Regions from separate parts of the Homo sapiens genome. Here region 2 is linked to region 1. The links are contacts of gene promoters, found by promoter capture Hi-C in blood cells and fetal thymus (Javierre and others, 2016). All regions are on one chromosome and are shown on one strand. Each heading gives the region's core, a stretch centred on a gene start or on the middle of the fragment in contact. The rest is flanking DNA. Distances are from core to core; before and after follow the strand shown. Region 1 holds the start of TOM1L1 (target of myb1 like 1 membrane trafficking protein). Region 2 has its middle 11 kb from the start of CA10.

Region 1 (7,027 bases), core at 996-3,495:
CCTCTCAGGATTGTGAAGATTAAGATAGATTTCTAGTTGCAGACACTTAGCACATTTTACATAAATAAATGTTGACTAAGTGTTCTTGGAATTGAAATTGTGGTAAGATTTTACTCCTGGTGTCATTTTACCCCTGTGGGATTCTGCTCCTTCTCTGACCTCAACTTAGCTGTGAATTCTATTGTCCCCGCTGCTAGACTTTACTAACATTAACCACGTTGATTTTCATGCCTGGAGAGAAGAGGGATCATGCAGAACGGAACAGAGTACAGGAAGAGAAGGCTGCAACAACCACCACAACACCCTGGAGGGCACAGGGAGAGAGAAAAACTTCTGCCAGGCATTGCTGAGATAGAACACAGGTAGCACTCATCAACCTTGGTTCTGTTCACCCAAGCATCAAGTCCAGAAGACACTCCTTGCTACTGTTTCTCCTCTTTCTCGGTGCCTCAGTCCTGTCATGTAAGGAAATCAGACATAGGAGAAAAAAACAAAAAAAAAAAAAGAAGAAGAAGAAGACGAAAAGAAAAACCTCCCACATAGAAGTATGTTAAAAATCTATCTCTCTGGATGCTCGGTTCCTTTCTCGTTCTCATTAACTGATAGAAGGCCACTGACACCAACATTGGCCTAAGCTAAAATTGGTTTTCTTTTTCAGAGATTGTAGGTTGATTCTAGGTTGCAGAAAAGGCAAAATATTTTGCTAGAGGCATGGAATACAGATTAGGTTGGTGATGTCACAAAAGAGGTTTTCAACAGTGTCAGCAGAGGCTATAGTGATGAGTAAGGAAGTTGATAAACGGCAACATCTGAAATAGCTACTCGCCCTGAATAGGCAGGTGGAGAATATTAGTTACACGTGGGACAAATCCCATTATGAGACATATCATCACAACAAGAATATTTCATTCTAGATTTTAGAATCCCAGGTTTTGGCTCACTTTGGTCAAGAAAAATTATAAATAATTGAGTTACAGATAATTAAATGTTAGCCTCCTGGAGTGCATGGCAATTGGTTTTGACCTCTATATTAAAATTCACAAGACCACGGACATAAGTCAAAACAGGTCCCCTTCGTCTCCCTAGTCACCATCTCCAGGGCTAAAAAACAGACTTGAAATGGGTGGCAGTTAGACTACAGGAAACAGGATCTACAAGCACCAGGAGCTCATCTATGGCTATCTGACATCGCCTGGGGACACCTCACTCTCTGGCAGGCTCCTGCTGGCTGGAGATTGTTAACATCGCCAATCAGATGTTAATTGAATGCAAAGGAATAGGAAATAAATTCTGGTTCTGAAGGGGCAGCTGGAAAGGTGTTGGGCTTCTCAGATTCCAACCTACATTACAAAGCAGGCCTAAAGCCAAGCATACTCCTTGCCAGAAGAAACGGAAAGCCCCTCTCCCGTTTTTAGAATCAGGCTGGAAAACACGGCTCCCAGAAGGTGGGGTTAGAAAACAAGAGCTTGCGAGGCGGCGCCCTGTGGTCCCTCGAGGAAATAGTAGAGAGACAAAGAGGGCCTGCTCCTGGGAAGCCCTAAATTCGAAGCCAATCCTTCCTCCTAGACATGACCACAACTTTAAAGGGCAGGGCGCACACCTCCCCTCCCGGATCTCTAGGACAAAGGCAGGTCGAGGGTAAATATTTCTAGTTATTCAGTATATTCAGTGGCTAACTATTTATTTTGTGGGTACCAGACACCGACATAATCGGTTACGTCCTTCCCTTAATTCTCATAATTCTGAGGTTTGTGTTATTAACCCCCTATTATCTTTGGTCTACCCAGGGCAGCCAAAGAGGCGCAGAGAAGAATGACAAGGTGCCCAGCAAGCGGCAGGATCAAAGCCTGGGTCTCTAATTCCCAGGCTGGAGATTCTGGGCTGCCTGCTCCTCCTGCACGGGGCGAAAAGCCCACCTGGGATCCGAGCGGGCGGCCGCGCCACTCTCGCAGGCTCCATACACCCGCCACTACCCGCCTGTACCACCTGCAGCCGGCAGCGCAGCCTCCTCGCGGGTCCCGCAGGGCGCGCTGCAGGTGCGCTGGGCGTCCCGAAGCCCCGCCCTCGCGTCCCTGCCCCGCGCCCAGCTCCTCACGCTCGGTGCCCGCGCCCCGCAGCGGCAGCGCAGAACGCACCGCCTCTGCCAGAGCCCGGGAAGCGCTCGGGCGAAGAGGAGGAGCCAAGGGTACCGAGCGGGTGGAGTCGGGAGCCGGAGAGCGGTGGAGGCGGATTTCCTGGGCCCGGCCCTCTGGCGCTACCATGGCGTTTGGCAAGAGTCACCGGGATCCCTACGCGACCTCCGTGGGCCACCTCATAGGTAAGGAGGCGCGGGGAGAGACGCCCAGGCAGGCAGGGGACCGTGGGATCCTTTCCTGCTTGATCCATTCTCGGCCTGCAGAGGACGGAGTTAGTCCAACTTGAAAAAATTATTCCCCTCCCCCCGCAACTTTCCCAAGGCACCCGCATTCCACCCGGCCCCCTTTCGTCGTTTCCTTCTTGGCCAACTCACTGTAGAACCTCAGTCCTCAAAAATGTACCTTCCTTTCGATGCCGCCTGGGGAGTGGAACCAAACAGGTGAACCGCGGGAGTCAGGCATGGAGTGTTTGGGCCTCCACGAGGAGACACCAGAAACTTCTCGGTAGGGGAAGTTATTCCTAAAGGCACATTCTCCAGGGCACGGTATTGTTATGCCCGTTTTACAGATCAGAAGAGGAGGCTCTGGGAGACTAAGTGATGTGGCCTTACTGTGAGGGGCAGGTCTCCCCAAACCAGTTTTCTCTAGTGCCAAGCTTATACAACCTGGATTACTTTTCTGGGTAAACAAAGAGAATGAAAATGCTTGGCATTGGAGTGAAGAGGAGGGGAACATAGGAGCCATCTGGGGCCACGGAGGTCTCTCGCAGGCCACTAGGGACTACACCAGCATCCACCTAAATGATTTCTCTCTCCTCCGGATGTACCTTGCATGATGTATGTAGAAGCCAGTGATTGGACTCCTACCAGCACCAGCTCACTGCTCCTTCTTTTCCCTGATTCCTCCCTTGGGAATTGGGTGTGGCACGAGTGCATATTAATGCCAGGCAAAGTGTGATGATGTCAGGAACTTAGTGGGGTGATGAAATCGTGAGAACCTAGTAGTTGTAGTAAAGAGGCCCAGATTTGGAAAATTTAGATCACAGCTCTACTAACTGCTGTGACACCGAACACACCACTTAAACAGAACCTTAGTTTACACATCCTTATAAGATGGTCAGAGTAGCTACCATTGAGGAGATGCTTTCCCTTAATGGCTGTGCTTTTTTGGATATTAGAATGAACCCCAAGCAGAAATGGATTCAGACTGTGTCTTCATAGGCAAACGAAACTTCAGCAGTTCTTCTGCTTAATTTTTTAATTCTGTAAACATGGACTAACTGTCAGCTATGTGCCTGGACCTGGATCAGGCACTGGTGAGGCCAAGGTGAGACGTGGTCTCAAACCTGAGGGAACTCACTTTCTTGTAGAGAAGACGGGCACAGTTTTGTGTGGCACCTTTGCAATGCAAGAAAATGCAAAACACACAAAACTTAGGAGAAGGGAGAAATGAATTCTGCGTGGCTTTTGAAGGGTGAATAGGAGTTTTCTTTTCTAGGGAGGTAAGCTTTGTCCATTCGGTGCCAGATTCAAGTTTTTTGTTGTTGTTGTTTTGTTTTTGTTTTTGTTTTTGTTTTGAGACGGGGAGTGACACCCAGGCTGGAGTGCAGTAGCTCTCGGCACACTGCAACCTCCGCCTACCGGGTTCAAGCACTTCTCCTTCCTCAGCCTCCCGAGTAGCTGGGACTACAGGCACATGCCACCACGCCAGGCTAATTTTTGTATTTTTAGTAGAGATGGAGTTTCACCATGCTGGCCAGGCTGGTCTCGACCTCCTGACCTCAGGTGATCTACCCACCTCGGCCTCCCAAAGTGATTGGGATTACAGGCGGGAGCCACCGGGCCCCGCCTCAAGTGGTTCTTTTCCTGGATTGAAAGCAAGCTAAACTTTGGGGTTCCCCCAAGCAAGTCCTTATTCTTCCCCTTCTCTATCTTTTTTGTTTTTTTCTCCATTTCCCCCAGAACCCGGTGTTTTCATGCTTAGGGATCTTGTCCTTCTCTTAGGAAGATGTTAGCGCATTCATACTGAGTGTTCCATTACCCTTTCCAGATAACATCTTGTATTCTTAAAGCGGCTGTCTGGAGAGGGAAAGATGCCTGATTATCTAATCATAGGGTTCCAAGTGCAGAAGCATTCTGGTCAGCCTGGTGCAGCTGTGGTTAGTTTAGATGCTTATTATTATTAGTTCGGATAGTTATCCAGCGCCAGTTTGAAATAATTAAGGCTGAAAGTAAAAGTGTATGCAATGGAAGTTTTTACATAGTTGAGGTAAGCAGTGTCTTTGCAAGTATTGGTTGAAGTTATAATAATTGGTAAAATTAGAAGGAATCGTGAGATTAAGATGATAGGACAATAAACGTATTACTTTTATTTGGAGTTGTGCCAATGTTTTGGCTCCTAAGAACAACGGATTACTTCTCTCCTTTAAAAGTTCTTTCCTCCTGTCCCCCCAGAGAATAAATTATTTTTAAAAACAAACAGTGGGACCAAACAACCTAGATTTGAATGCCAATTCTACTTCATACTGACTGTATAACTTTGGTAATTTCCTAACCTCTCTGAACTTCTATCTCATCATCTCTCACAGTGGGTTAAATGAAATTGCGTATGATAAAATACTTAGCACTATGCAGTTCACCTTCTAGGTAGCTGCTCACTAAGCCCTAGTTCCCTTCTCTGAAAGCCAGGCAGGCGGAGATTTAGCTGGCCTGGCCTGGGCCTGTGGCCAGCTGTTGTGCTTGAGGTCTTTATTAATAGGTCACTCATTACTGTTGCTGCAGCAGCACTCTGAACTTGGGTTCTGATTGATTCCTGAATTACTGAGAACTGTTCCAAAAAAAATCACTTTGCCCTTTGGCAATGTAAACTTAATGACACTTGCTGGTGCAGCCTAGGCAGATTATTTCAGGAATACCAGACATTTTTTATTCTGTTGTAGCTCAGACTCAACAGCTTTTTCTTGGCAGAAAAGGCTACATTTGCTGGAGTTCAGACTGAAGATTGGGGCCAGTTCATGCACATCTGTGACATAATTAACACTACCCAGGATGGGTGAGTACAGCATGGTTTCCATGTATTTGCCTCTGACAAGAAGCATCAGAACTACAGCACGTTTTCTCTTGCAAATATTTCGGTTTTGTTGTTGAAAGAGTGTTTTCATCATTCATTAGGCACCCTCTATCTTTTGAAGACTTGTCAGGTTGAAATATTGGGGCAGCTGCTTGCTTCAACATGTGGAGTATCCATAAATCCACTATAATTTTTCTCCTCTTGGCAGTTTCTTTAATAGTTTCAAATTTTGTCACTGTGAAGCTCAAATTCCTTCCTTCTAAAAGATTGAAAAAGGCCGGGCGCAGTGGCTCACGCCTGTAATCCCAGCACTTTGGGAGGCCGAGGCGGGCGGATCATGAGGTCGGGAGATGGAGACCATCCTGGCTAACACGTTGAAACCCCATCTCTACTAAAAAATACAAAAAAAATTAGCCAGGCATGGTGGCGGGTGCCTGTAGTACCAGCTACTTGGGAGGCTGAGGCAGGAGAATGGCGTGAGCCTGGGAGGTGGAGCTTGCAGTGAGCAGAGATCATGCCACTGCACTCCAGCCTGGGTAACAAAGCAAGACTCTATCTCAAAAAAAAAAAAAAAAAAAAAATTGAAAAAGAGAGATTGTGTCCTTCTTTAGGAATATCTCCAGCTCCCAGTGCCAGTATTTGATGAAACCATCAAATATTATCAAGAAGCTGGTTGACTCCCGGTGGTGACCTATTTCTGAGCAATTATTTCTAGTAACCAGGAAACAATCTAGCAGTCTTTTTTCCTCCCTGTCCCAGGACAATTTTTTTCCTTCTGAATGTCAACTCACCCATGTTTAAGCTGTATTCTTATAGCATGTGCTATCGTTTGTTCTTAAACTTCTTAAACTTTCGAGAATCGAAGTTATAAGAAAAAAGTCATTAAGAAGAGCAAACTGGTTTGCTTGTAGTCAATTACAAGTTATTCTAAGGAACACAATTCTGGTAATTTTCCTGGGCATATTAAAGTGATAACTGGCAGTAAAAGAGATTTAGTCTAGCTTATGTTGATAAAGAAAACATCAAACTTAATTATTGATTATAAATAAATGGAAAGCGCTTATGGTTAGTACTTTTAAGTGTGTATGGTTTTTTTCCTATAATCCTATTTACCATGTTTAGTTCCTCTGGGAACATTTTCATTGATAATACCAATTCATTGATAATACAAAAAGAGAATCTTAAAGTAAATTTGGACCCTTATAAACAGTCCTTTCTTTGTAACATAAAATTGTGGCGTATTGGCAGCTGACCTAGTTTGTTGTAATTCCTGTTACATCCCCTTGTCTATAGGGTGCTCAGGAAATACTAATAGTTTTAATAAAAATGGTAACATTCATTGTTTCGGAAGTTGCATTTCCTATAAGTTGGTTCTGTGCATTGATAGAGGGATACAGGAATGAGTGCATTTCATGGGTAGTACTTTCTAGGTAATAGTCTTGTACGAAAATATTTTATTTGATTCTCATAAGGGGTTAGGTGGTATTGTCTGCCTGTATGCGTGAAGAAATTTAGGTTCAAGAAGTTAAGTCATTCGCATAGGGTCCCACAGTAGAACCAAGGCCTTAGTTTTCTGCTCCTTAGCCATTCCTCTCTCCAAATGCATGTTGCTTTTCAGAGAGACTGCTTGTTTTCAGCAATGCCTAAATTGGTGATTTCAGTGTATTTATTGCTATAGGCCAAAAGATGCAGTGAAAGCTTTGAAGAAAAGGATTTCCAAAAACTACAATCATAAAGAAATCCAACTTACCTTGTCAGTAAGTACTTTAATTTTATAATTAAGACTCGAGGATTTCTCAAGCTATAGTTACATTTTTAATCCT
Region 2 (6,788 bases), core at 2,842-5,341, 2.7 Mb before region 1:
GTTTGTAAATGATAAATGCTTGAGGTAATGGGTACCCTATGCCCCATTTACTCTGATGTGAGTTTTACACATTGCATGCCTTTGTCAAAATACCTCATGTACTCTTTAAATATATAGACCCATTACATATCCATAAACACTAAAAATAAAAAAATTAAAAGATATTCAGTGTAGACGAAGGTCAGGTGGAAATAAAAACACTGAAGAAAGTGTATGACCATTATATTTTTAAAAAAATTAATAGGGAAATAAGAACTTCAAAAGGAGGACTAGTAATCTGCTATCCAGTGTGAAGATTGGGGCTGTCAAGCTGTGTATTAGCTTCTTATATCTGCTGCAATAAATTATTACATACTTAGTAAAATAACAAAAATGCATTTATTTATTTATTATATATTTATTTGTACTTAAATTTACTGGTTTATCATAAAACATACCAATGAAGCGGTAGATAGGACAAGGTCCAGAAGGGCCCTGAGCCCAGGAGCTTCTCCCATGGAGTTAGGATGTGCCACACTCTCAGCACATGGATGCATTCGCCAACCATAAGGCTCTAAAACAAAAAAATGTATCTTTGACTTCTGAAGGTCAGAAATCTGAAACAAATCGGCAGGGCAGATTCTTTGTGGTGGCTTTCAGGGAGAACATTTTTCCTGCCTTTGCTGTCTTCTAGATACTGTTTATGTTCCTTGGCTCATGGCTGTCTTCCAGAAATGATTTTACTCTACTTTCTGCTTTCATCCTCACCTCTTCTCCTCTGAGTTTCTCTTTTCCTTATAAGGATTCTTATGACTACATTGAACCCAACTGGATATTTCAAAATAGTCTCCATCACAAGAACCTTAATTTAATAACATCTGTCAAATCTTTTTTGCCATGTAAAGTAACACATTCTCATGCTCCAGGGATTAGGATGTTAACATCTTTAGGAGGTCATTATTCTACCTATCACAAGCAGATTGATTTGGGTCACATGAAGAGTGCCAAGTGTAGATCAATGGAGCTTCTCATAAAGTAATTGAAAAAAAAAGCTGCCACTTTTTAATCTATACAGTAATGTACCTTACATTTTTCAATAGTGAGTTCATGTGAGTTATTTGAGGAATTGGTATGAGACCTTGTTCTCTATAAATGAGTCTATCAAGAGGAAATGTTAAGGTATTTGAGTGGATACAGTTCATTTCTCTGGACAAAGAATGTGAGGATGCTGAAATGACACATACCACTAGGAGAATAGATTATTTACCTCTCTTTGATATCGGAATAGATAATAGTTTAATTACCACCAGTGCTCATTATATTTTCAAAATAGGCTTTCTTCTCACCCATACTATAATTTGTGTCCAACGTCAAAGAATTAAAATGCTATACCTTATTTACTATTTATATTTTGGCAGATGGATAAAGAATTTGATGAAATAGTTCACATTAAGATTGTGGCACTTGGGCTAAGGCTTTGGGCATCATTTTGAAAGTTAGTGAAACTCATGTTACACTTTTCTCCTTTTTATTGAATTTCTCTCATATATCCAGTCTCCTTAACTCAAGATCTTAAAAATGGAAGACTTATTTGCAATGAGTACATAGCAGGCATTCTGTAAAAGATTGCTGAAAAATTGAATAGGTTTGTTTATTTGTTTATTCAAATAAATCCACTTTTCTTCCATTTTTTGTAATGAATTTGATGATAAATGTTTCCTAATACATTGTAAGTGCACATTAATATACTTTCAGTCCTAATGTAGTCCAACCCCCTTATTTTTTATGTGGGAAGATGGAGGCTTAAGATTAGGTCAAGTGATGTGTCCGAGTTCAACAAAGGCAAAAGCAGGGGCAGGGCCAGAATTTCAGCCTTCCTAGTTAATTATTAGTTTTTATAAACCTTCCATTCCCATCATTATTTCTTTTGTGACCAAGTAACACAGTGCAACAGCTGAAACATAGATGGCAAATGTATTAGCCAAAACCAGGCATTTTAGTGGGAGACATTTTTCTTAGATTGTCTCTTTCTGTCCAATGCACTTTCAACTCTACCTGACCATTTGTGTGTGTGTATGTGTGCGGGTGTGATGGGGTGGTGTGTGTTTATTTTACATTAAGCAATTTCCAGTGAAGTTTTATACCAACAGGAATGCTTCGCTCTTCTCTGTGAGCCAACTGCCCTATCGGGTAGCAGTTATAGATCAGTATAGAATATTTTAGTTTCATAATGGTTCTTAGGTATAAAGAAAGGCTTAAATTAGCACAACAGTCTGCTTTCACTACAGCTTGCATAATTTTGGAGTTAGCAACTGACACATTAGGTTTTAAAACTATTTGCTGAGATTATTTTTTTACATTGTCTTCCCAATGATTAGCATTAAAATTACAAGTTTTAAGCTTCATTTTGCACTTGAAAGACTCTTTGTAGTTCTCTACTCAGCAATGTCTACATGCTAGATTATAGAGTTATATGTCTCATTTATTTATTAGGAAAATTAACAAATAATGGGTGTGGCAGACATATCCACTATGAAAAGTCAGAGGTATGGGACAAGAGTCTTCCCTCCCCCAAGCCCATGGCCCCTTCCCCTTCTCTTTCTGCTCCTGGCCACTGCTTCCATGGTCAAGTGATTCATGTAGGGTCTTTCATGTTTGTATGAGATATCTCAGGATCAAGTGCCTTAAGACCATGCTTTTACACACATCTCCTTAAAGGGCCATTCTTTGACCACAGGTTCAGTCCTGGGTATGCACTCACCAGCATTGCAGCCTACTTTTGGGGAAAGAGATCCTCCCAGCCCCACCCAACCACCACAAACACACACCTTAACAGTATTAAACATCAAATCCTTGGTGAAATAACATGCCACTTATTCAGAGCATTGAGGAAGTTCAGCAAGGGAGGAATACTGCAACTGGAGGGCTCTGAAAGGAATTCCATTTCCAAATCAACACAGAAGATAAGACCCTGCTACAGAGATCTAGTTAATTTTCTTCTCCTGCAAATGAGATTTCCTGAATTGTATCCAGCTTCAACAACAGATTTTTTTTTCTCATTGGTTCTATTGTGTGGATGTAATAAAGTAAGAGTTGAGTTACCATAGCAGAAAACCCTCAAATTTCTGAATCCGTTCTCTGATTGCTACTAGATAGAGAAGAAAACTAACGAAAACAAAAAGAGCCTCCTGCCCAGCAGGACAGGAGATATTGTGAGTAGCCATAATTTTATGATGGAGTTAACAACAATTGAGATCAAAGGTTGAAAGAGTAGAGTTTTTCCTACAAAAATATAAACATGCCATTGTCAGGTATTGAAAAATATCAAGGTTGTTGTAAATGTCACATAAACATATGACTAAGTAATGGTTCTTATCTCATTAGTTCAAATGCTTTCCTTAATGAATCTTTTGAGACTTGTATGAGTTAATATTACATATAAGATGATATTCCATTTTCATGTTCCATAAATTATTATTTCTTTAGGAAAATAGATTTTTAAATGAATGTGAATGAAATCTTAAATATATTTTAAATGATCAACTATTAAAGTAAAAACTTATATTGTTTTCATCTGTGTTCGCCCAACTTTTCTTATGATAAAATAGCAATTTCTGGTGGCTGTTTCTCATTTTCCTTCCCATGAAATGGGAAACAGACTGGCAACCTGCCCTTTATACTTCAGTCAATTTTTGCTGGAAATAAAATGAGCAGAATAAGCTCTATTTTCTCCTCTTGCATAAGTACATTTCAGATGAAGATGGTAGTAATTTTGGAGATGTTGCCATAATAATGTTTGAGTTATTGGATTCAGCTCAACCAATAATCACTTGAGTTAGCTTGTTGGAAAGTTCTCAATAAACAAAGATAAATAATAGGGCTTTCTATCAAGTAGAAAGTGGGCGCTACTCTAAAATTCTTCTCATTTACCATTAGACGTTTTATAAGATTTTCAAAGAAAAATTGATTTTAATATACTCTAATTACAACGGCTCTTAAGGAGGTGTAGGGGGCCTGGGCATAGTGGCTGATGCCTGCAATCCCAGAGTTTCAAGAGGCTGATGGGGGAGGATCACTTGAGACCAGGAGTTCAAGACCAGCCTGGGCAACATAGTGAGACCTCATTTCTACAAAAATGAAAATAAAAAAATTAGCCAGGTACCATGGTATGTAACTGTGTTCCAGCTACTCAAGAGGCTGAGGTGGGGGGGTTGCTTGAGCCCAGGAGTTTGAGATCACAGCGAGCTGATTGTATCACTACACTCCAGCCTGGGTGACACAGCAAGACCCTGTCTCTAAAATAAAATAAAATAAAAATAAAAAATAAATTTACAAATGAGGTATAGGGGATGAAAGTGTCACAAAATCAAATGGTAAAAAGTTTGAATAAGGGTCATTGGTATAAGGAATAGAGTCTCTATTGGTTCAGGGACTGATTTTATCCAAACAGTTTGGCAGCTGAGCTCTATCAGGATAGCCTCTTTTCACCTCCTGTCTACCAGCTGTCTATTTGCAACCAGCAGGGTGCAACCTTGAGTCAGGCTGGAGATGCTTTGTCCATATGGAAAAGCAATGGCCAAATTTAAAATAAAGGTACCTAGGGGTAAGGGAACTTAAGAATCTCAATCTAACCATTCACACTGAGGGGAAGACATTTCGGGCTACTCTGGTGGAAACCCAAACTAGATAATGCAGATCCAAAAAACCAAGCAGAGCCCTTCCAGGAACACAAACAAGTTATTTTTCAGAGAGAATTTAAAGTAGAGAATTGGTTGAACAGGAACACAAACAACAAGTTATTTTTCAGAGAGAATTTAAAGTAGAGAATTGGTTGAACAGGCATTGGAGGACTAAAAAGCCACCATGAAACACCAAGTTAATGCAGAGAGAATAACTCTAGGAAACAGCTACCACCATTATAACCAGGGAGACAACATAAACAGATTAGGATGATCAGAACCAAGAAGCCTGGAGGAGGGGTCCCTGATGATCTAGGAACTGTACCTCGCAAGAGAGGGTGCATCCCATTGGACTGGCATCTTAGAGCTCAGAGGAGGAGCTGTAACTCAGACCTCTGAGTACAGCCTCCCTCTCAGCTGACACTGAAACCTAGTGGAAGCTGGTTCTGAGACTTTTGGAAGAAACTGGAAAGTGGAAGCAACTGCTTGCTGAAGTGAAGAGCTGTTGCTGGGAGATAATTGCAAAACCAGTATGGAAAACTGAATGAATCAAGTCCTTTCTTTGCACCTCTTGTTTTCTAGGCTCCCTCTAGCACTCCCTGTTGGCAAAAACCTAATAGGGAGCAAATTGACAAAAGAGAAATGTGCTTGGTGGAGATCCAGCAATAGCATCACAGAGTATGGAGGGACTGGGAATGAAAAGAGGTTAGGCCTGGTGTGGTGGCTCACACCTGTGATCCCAGCACTTTGGGAGGCCGAGGCGGGCAGATCACCTGAGGTCAGGAGTTCAAGATCAGCCTGGCCAACATGGTGAAACCCCGTCTTTACTAAAAATACAAAAAAATTAGGTGGGCATCGTGGTGTGCACCTGTAATCCCAGTTACTTGTGGGGGCTGAGGCAGGAGAATCGCTTGAACCTGGGAGGTGGGGGTTGCAGTGAGCTGAGATCATGCCACTGCACTCCAGCCTGGGAAACAAGAATGAAACTCCTTCTCAAAAAAAAAAAAAGATTATAGGTTAATAACTGTCACACCCATTAATTCCGACCAAGACAAGACTTGAGTGACAGAAAAATTAGCCTCTAATGTTGTAGAGCTACATCGGCTGTTATAGTGCAGGGTTTTCAGGATGAAGTTTTGCTCCTCAGAAGCTTTTCACTGTGCTTGATATTGAACCAGTGCACTTCTCTCTCATTCAATAGCAGTTCTGATATCTAACCCACAATTTCATATGTATTTGGCTTTCCAAAAATCTGCTTTTGAGCTAAGCTCTTGCTACCTTATGAAACTAAGCAGCCTACCCCACAGCCTCTTTTCTACCTTCAAATTTGTCATTCCACAGCTTTGGCTTGCTGTCATCACAGTAAATGGCTGAGCCTTCCTTACAATCACAGTGGGGACTAGCCCCCAAATAGCTGATCACACCAAGGATGTTGCCTCACTTCCATGTCCCTAGAACCTACCAGAAGACAATGTTAATGATAAAATTTAAAAAAATATGTTTTCTGATTCAGAAACTTGACCCTGAGGTCATCTGAGTTACAGAAGCATTGCTGCCGATCTGCAGTTTCAGAAACCATTATAGGAACCCAGAAGAGGAATGCCCAATATCAACCATGTATTTGGGCAAATTTTGTTGAAAGAAATGAGTTGCCTTGAACTTAAAGATGTGCCAGCCTCAGGCACTGTGGAGAATACAGTGGATAAAGAGGCACTGCACCCTGAATCAGAAGGCTGATGTTTGAATCTGAAGTCTGCCATTCTCTACCTATGGGATTTTAAAAGACACTTAAGTGCTTGAGCCACAATTTCTTTTGCAAAAACAGAATAAAAACATATTTTATATAGATTGAGACAATGAAATGGAACAGTATAAATAAGAAACATTTAACACATCATAGATAATAATTATTAATTCATCTAATTCTATATGGAATTGTAATTGGAAAATGTAATGTGTGGTTTATGAAACATACCAATCAGGAATTTAAAAAGACATTATTTACCAGATGTTTAATGTATACCAAGTCATGGTTCTCATGCATCTTATTCTATATCCCTTCCCCACTCACCAATATGGCACCATGATCTTTGATTATCTGGATGGGAATGGGGTTTAGGGAAGGTAAAG

Evidence for each region. The method cuts DNA at HindIII sites, captures the fragments that hold promoters and counts their contacts. A CHiCAGO score of 5 or more calls a contact.
Region 2: a contact is called between a fragment that was not itself captured here and the fragment with the promoter of TOM1L1 in region 1, in 1 of 17 cell types (endothelial precursors). The highest score is 5.3, in endothelial precursors.

The regions. Positions count from the first base shown.
Region 1 is chr17:54,898,607-54,905,633 of GRCh38, forward strand. It overlaps TOM1L1 (target of myb1 like 1 membrane trafficking protein), which reads left to right and starts at 2,246. Exons shown (of 16, transcript NM_005486.3): 1 at 2,246-2,317; 2 at 5,102-5,186; 3 at 6,883-6,961. The coding sequence starts at 2,260. It overlaps LOC124904033 (a long non-coding RNA gene), which reads right to left and starts at 2,131. Exons shown (of 2, transcript XR_007065854.1): 1 at 2-2,131. RefSeq lists a silencer at 1,921-2,260 and enhancers at 2,341-2,450, 2,471-2,560. The HindIII fragment of the contact is 6,286 bases long and covers 1-2,788 here.
Region 2 is chr17:52,166,657-52,173,444 of GRCh38, forward strand. No RefSeq gene overlaps it. Among named protein-coding and RNA genes, the nearest start is that of CA10, 11 kb to the left of the region's middle. The HindIII fragment of the contact is 3,429 bases long and covers 2,378-5,806 here.